Linked DNA regions of Homo sapiens: region 2 is linked to region 1. The links are contacts of gene promoters, found by promoter capture Hi-C in human tissues and cell types (Jung and others, 2019). All regions are on one chromosome and are shown on one strand. Each heading gives the region's core, a stretch centred on a gene start or on the middle of the fragment in contact. The rest is flanking DNA. Distances are from core to core; before and after follow the strand shown.

The links. The method cuts DNA at HindIII sites, captures the fragments that hold promoters and counts their contacts. A contact is called where the count stands out against the background at its distance.
Region 2: a contact is called between a fragment that was not itself captured here and the fragment with the promoter of OTP in region 1, in 1 of the 25 tissues and cell types used here (lymphoblastoid cells).

The regions. Positions count from the first base shown.
Region 1 is chr5:77,637,177-77,640,445 of GRCh38, forward strand. It overlaps OTP (orthopedia homeobox), which reads right to left and starts at 1,537. Exons shown (of 3, transcript NM_032109.3): 1 at 1,337-1,537; 2 at 1-54. The coding sequence starts at 1,373. RefSeq lists enhancers at 1,523-2,079, 2,080-2,634. The HindIII fragment of the contact is 12,469 bases long and covers 1-3,030 here.
Region 2 is chr5:78,088,630-78,091,954 of GRCh38, forward strand. AP3B1 (adaptor related protein complex 3 subunit beta 1) reads right to left here. Exons shown (of 27, transcript NM_003664.5): 22 at 764-870. Among named protein-coding and RNA genes, the nearest start is that of AP3B1, 200 kb to the right of the region's middle. The HindIII fragment of the contact is 4,309 bases long and covers 1-3,325 here.

The DNA of each region.
Region 1 (3,269 bases), core at 287-2,786:
GCCTACACTTCACCGCCTCCCGGTGGCCCAGAAGCTCGGCGGCATCTTTCATACCTGAGGAGGCAAGGGGATCGCGGTCACTACTTTCTTGGCGATGCCAGGAGGGGCTGTCTTCCCCGCGCAGCCTTCCTTCAACCCGTCCTCGGCCCCCTCCGCACCCGCGCTTGTCCTAAGGAAGAAACTCCCAGGGTATTCAGCTGGGTTCCCCAGAATTTGGACAGCCGGGTTGGAATAATATCTCCCGGCCCCTTGCCCTCGCCGCAGCCGGCTCCCGTAGTAAACAGCACAAGCTTTCGTCTCTCCCACAATAAAACACTCCCAGTCCCGGCAATAAAACATGCCTCTGAATCCCTTCCATAAACCGTACCCCAGGCGCCCCAGGAAATCGAGAGCAAATCTTTGGACACAGGGGTGCGGGGGGCAGAAAGAAAATTAAACAATTCCTCGGTTGCTGCGGCACCTGCGCTTCGGCAGCCTGACGAACTGTACCTCCGGCCCTCAGCCGATTCCCTCTTACTTTCGGAAGATGAATAAGCCTCCAAGCTTTCACCCCCCGAAATCAACCCAAATCAGCTCCGCCTCCCCCTCAAATCAGAGAAAGTGTTTGGAAAATGGAGTCACATCCATCACCGAAGATTCCCAATCCGGAAACCCAGAGCTCAGCAACCCAGATAGCATTAAGGAAACTCGAGTGAACTCTATGGACAACCGTGAATCAAACTTTAGAGATTTCAACTTTTCTTTCCAGAGAAATAAAAGGCGCATTCCTCACAGCCATTGGCAACGCTGAGTCCCTTGCAGAAGAGGGGGGGATGACTGTGAGGTTGAATTTGGCTTCTCTCCTTCTCAACCAGCACACTTAGCAAATCCGCCTTGATGGCAGCAGCTTCTCCTTTATGCCAGATTTTTTACAAATTACACCACACTTAGAAAAGGAGGAGAGAAGAAGATGGTGGGGAGAGAGAAACGGGGGGAGGGAAGGAGAAAGAAATCCCAAATCAAAACAAACAGGAGAGGGAAAAAAGAGAGAGAAACACCTCCTAACAAATTATCACGGGGTATATCGCCTTTCGAAAAAAAAAAAAAGGCGGGGGAGGGGGGAAGAGAAAAATAAGAAAAACAAAAAGTAACAACATTCCCCAACTCCTTTCTTGGATCTACATATTCCATAGATTTTTTTTTAAAGGCGATGTTAAATCAAATTAAACTTTAATGCAGCACAATTACTTTTAAAGAAATTAGTCCATTTAGGTCGCATTAAGGTAAAATAAGGAACAAATTGACAATTTCCTGCCCCGGCTTCTCCTGGCTGCCCGGGCGAGAGGCGCGCACTCACCTAGCCTGGCGTCCAGGAGGTCGGCATGAGACAGCATCGCGCACCGCTCCAGGGCGAAAGCTGTTCCCCCCCAAATTTTAGCGGCTTTAAGTTATTTAAAATAGATATAAGCTATAAGCTATACGATATAGATATATATAGATCACCTAAATGAAAGAAAATTCGGTTTGTGGTTAAAAAGGGGGCTTCTTGCATTATAATGTCCTTTAGAGAGACGGGGAGGTGCTTAACAGTTGAATGAACCCGTGAGCAGCTCGGCGAGGGGACCAATCAGGAGGGCAGCCTGCAAATGTCAGCGCCCGGAGAGTCCCCCACTCCGCCCGCCCGCTCGCCTGCGCCCGCCTGAAGGAGGCGGCGGCGGCAGCCCTGGCAGCTCCAGCCCGGAGCAGGAGCTAAAGCAGCCTCAGCCGCCTCGGCCTCGCCCTGAGCTTCTGGGCCCGGCTCCCTCTAGTTCTTCCCTGCGATTTTCTCCAGGCTCCCCTTTCCTTCCCCTTGGCCGGCGCTGCGCGCTTCGAAGGCGTAGCTCTGTGCCTCTGAGCTAACATCTTCCTAGGGCAGGGGCAGAGCAGGGGTCAGAGCGGGCCATGACCCTGGCGTGACCTGAGGGTCGCCCCCACCTGCGCTCTCTGGGCCTGCCGCTCATATTGGCCCGCCAGCCCAGGGCGCGACGAGGGCACACCGCGGCCTTCAGACAACGCCTGGACTTCGCCGCGGCTCAGTAGGCCTGCGCCTAGGGTCCAGGCGCCCTGGCTGTGCCCTGGGGTCTATACGAGCCCCAACCCCACAGTGGGCCTAGAGCGCAAAGAGGAGTCGGCTTCCCTGGCACCGCCAGCGCCCGCTGTCTGCTTTGGGGACCCTCGCGGAGTGTGGGTTCGAGCGCTCTGCACTCTTCTCACCGGGCTTCTTCCCGGCTCCTGCTCTTCCGCTTGGCCCACGCCCGCATCCTCGCCCCTAACTCGCTCTTTTGGTCAAAGTTTCTAAGTTCAGCTCGGCTCCCAACTCCACTTAAGGCTGTAAATAAAGTTAAATGCTCTTTATTTTCCTCTTGAATATGTTAAACTACTTGAACAATTTAAAGTGCTTTGCACAAGTGAAGCGAACCATTTCTAATGTTCTGATTTTTCAGAGCCAGCCAACAACAAAGTTTAGATTAGTAATATATTTCTAACCAGAGTAATTTTCAAGATCATTAGGCATTTATGTAATTAGTGCCAAATCTATAAGCTTTTATTACGATTATTAGAGTAAAATCAGTATAAATTTGTACTAATTTACTACTGTTTAGACTTGGCTGTCAAGCCTAGAGGTTCTTATTGTAAATGATAACTGAGGAAATTAAGTGCAAAATTCTGTACCATTTCTGATCTGCTCCTAAACAATCCGTTTCAATTGTATTTGTAGCAGAACATAATGCCCTTTTAAAGTTATTTGACTTGTATTTTTATTTGCAACACAAGAAAAATGCCCTCTACCCAGTCACAATGAAAACTGATATTTACTACTCCCAACTTGATTAACATTGATTTTTAATTCGAGAGTGATGCAATTAAGATTATTCATTTAGTGCAAATAAACCTTCCACAAAAGGGTGGCCCAATGAAGTCTGTTTTAAATAATACTGAGCAAATGGCTTTTTTTGTTCGCCGTCCAATTGACTTAGACAAAACATTGAAAATGCTGGCTGAGAGCAGATGCGAGAGGAATTGTGTGTGTGTGTGTGTGTGTGTGTGTGTGTGTGTGTGTCCTCAGCTGTATGTGTGACAGGGACCGAGCAAGGAGACAAAGGAGGCGGCAAAGCGAACTCTCGGGCAGTTTTGTTTCCTCCTTCCCTCCTGCAGCCCGTTCGCCTCCTCTCCTGCACACACACGTGCGCGCGCACACATATGCACACACGTGTGAATGCAGGGTATTGGCCACACCAGTTTCTTCTGAG
Region 2 (3,325 bases), core at 484-2,983, 450 kb after region 1:
GATCTATTGAAGCTACCTATGCCCATCAAAGCTTACTATTCTGTCTCTTAGTCTGTCAGATTTCTGACAACAAATTAACAGGAGGTCAAGCATATCAACAGATTATACATCTTAGGCGCAGCGTGCTTGATTTACAGTGAAAAGTTAGTGGATATAATATGCTAACACAATAAACAGTTGTTGCAGCTTCAAATACCATGATATGTTGACGGTTTTTGCATTATTTTGTGACAGGTAGGTTCTAGCCTCACTTCACATCACATTCTATAAATAACATTAAAGAATAATTTTAAAGACACCAACACATGTAAATAAATGTACAAAAATAAGACAGAAAAAAAAATCTTGAACTTTTAAATAAAAACAGTCATGAATTTTTAATAGTCTATGAAAAAATAGTGTGGTAGGAATAAAACGATTACGGAAATGAAAGTCTGTTAATGTAGACAACTTTTTGTGGCACAGTTCAGGTATATGTACTGCGTCAATGTGGTGAAGAACCTTTGTATGTTACAGATATATAACAATACCAGAGAAAAACATACAGATGATAATTAAGTGTGGACAACAAGGGAAAAAAATTGAGAAGATAATGGTTTGAGTAAATTATTTAAAAAATTAAAAGGTCTTAGCTAAATTGGGCTTGTTCTTAGAGAAGAATCTGTTCAAAACTAAGAATCCACTTCAAGTATTTACATTTTAATAAAAAAGATACAATGGCAACATAAGAAAACCGAGCTGGTGGATTTTAAAAATAACTTACACTGATGACTGAAGAGGAAGTTGACAAGTGTAAACCTTCAAGATCAGCCATCAAACTTGGAGAAAGAGCTGGTGTGGGAAGTGCAACTGGAGTGGATACTGGGTTAACTGTAAGAAAAGGCCCAAATTAGTAAATGTGCATGAACGTTTAATTCAAATTATTAAAAGCAACATTTTTATTTTGTTAGTAAATCTAATTAAATTACTTTGATTAATAAATGTATGACAATTCTATTTAACATCTTGATTTAGTCAACTTATTATCAAGTCATGGCAGTTATTAGTCTTAGCTTTCAAAACATAATGGCAAATCCTATAACAAAATAAGGATATAAATATCTTGAGTAATAGTTTGTGAAAATTTTTATCACATAACATTATCACTAACATTTATCACCCAGTAATCTCCCTAAAAAAGTAAAGAAACATTTTTTTTCCAGACTATCATAAGAATAACAACCGCTTCCAAGAGAATGCTGCAGTGGAATTAGAAGTCTTGAAAGATGTTCAAATCCTATATCTATTTTATTCTCCACTCTAATCAGGCTACCTAATTCCCTTGTAATTATACTTTTTCAGCAAAAGCTATGTGCTAGATAGAAATGTTTGACTGATTCTAAAACTGCTATATACTTGAGAACTGATACCTGTAAGTTTGGAAATCTTCTAAAAATGCAAGTCTGGTCATGTTACTCCCCTGCTTAAGACTCTTCAAAGGCTCATAACTGCCTACAAGATAAAAGCCCAACTCCTCAATTAAGTTCACAAAGTCCTCTATGGTCTGCCCCAGCCCAAACAGCCCTTCCTATGCTAATGGAAATGTTCTACATTTGATAAAGTGGACACTAGCCACATATGCCTAACATACTCTTGATATGTGGCTAGTATGACTAAATAAATGCATTTTAAACTTTGCATAATTTAAGTAATTACATGTGGCTTGTGGCCGCCATACTGGACTATTCAGGTCCAGCTTATCTCCAATTTCAGCATTGTTATGCACTAGCTCTATGGGATAATAGTTCCCAAGATCTTGTTCTACGTCTTGGAGCCTTTTATATTCTACTCTGTTTGCCTACTTCTCTGCCTTGCTCATCTTGCAACTTCGATCTGGCAAGCTACCCTTTAAAAGGAAAACACTCTCTGGCTCACCTGCAAACAGCTTATATGTGCCTTCTTTGTTCCACAGATATACTTGAACAAACTTCTATAACTGTACTTCTCATGTAATACAAATTTGTGTCTTTACATGTTTGCATTTCTGCTAGTCTGTGTGAACAGACAATAACATTAATTTTTGGTGTTTCTAAACCATTTGAATAAAATACATTACAATGTGGTCAAGTTTTAGCTTCCAACAAATTCTCATTCCAAGATAATACCCTAAAGGGAATAACATTTAGTTAATTTGACATTTCTTTTTTTATTTTTATTTTTGGAGATAGGGTCTTGCTCTGTTGCCCAGGCTGGAGTAAAGCGGTGCAATCCCTTCCTGGGCCCAAGCAATCTCAGCCTCCTGAGTAAGTGCATGCCACCATACCCAGCCTTTTTTTTTTATTTTTTATTTTATTTTTTTTTAGAGATGGGATCTCCCCATGTTGTCCAGGCTGGTCGCTAACTCCTAGGCTCAGGCAATCTTCCTACCTTGGCCTCCCAAACTGCTGGGATTACAGGCGTGTGCCACAACACCCAGCTGTGACATTACTTTTCAAAGCATCTTTTTCTCATTTCAGTCTCACAATATCCAGTGAACAAGGCAGAACAAATATTAATCCGTAAAGTTAACAACAAATATTTATTCTGAAAGGTAGCAAGTGAGAGACAAAAAAGTTCAAGATCCTCAAGTAACAAAACCTAATTAAGAAAAAGAGATACATGTATTTGACAAAAAAAAAAAAAAAAAAGTAACAATACAGTCCATAAATGATACGGCCAAAGAAGAAAAATTTCAAAGGAAACACTAAACAAAATCTCAACATATATAATAGAGAAAGCAGCCTGGAGGTTGGATGGGGAGGGAGTGGAGCTCTTGGTCTTCCCTACGCTCACTTAGTACGGCTGAAGCACAGCTTCAAACCCCCAGGCTTCCTTAGACCCACACTGAAAACCCCGGTACAGTTTAGCAAGTGTCACAGAGTCAGGGGCAAAACAAGGATCACTGGAGAAGGAGTGGAAGAGGAGGCTTCATGAACAGGAGGGAATGAAGTCCAATTTTTAAGTAAGAGTGAGATTTGAATAAGAGGAAAGAAAGAAGCCAGTTAATTGTTGGATAACAGAATGCTATAAACAAAGGCTGAGAGGTAGGAAATTGAAAAACTAAGGGGACTGGATTTATCCTATAGACCAAGGGGAACAGTCAAAAATCGATCAAACAGAGGAATGACAATGAATATGGTCCTGCAGGATGGTTAATCAGATGGCAGTACAATGCACAGACTGAAGGCAGGGTTGGGAGTAGGGAAGAATTTACAATAGTTTAGGAATGAAGTGAAAAAGACTAAAGTAAGCCAATGGCAATGAGAAGGCTTAAAAAGAGCATTTAATATTGAAGACACTGGAAACT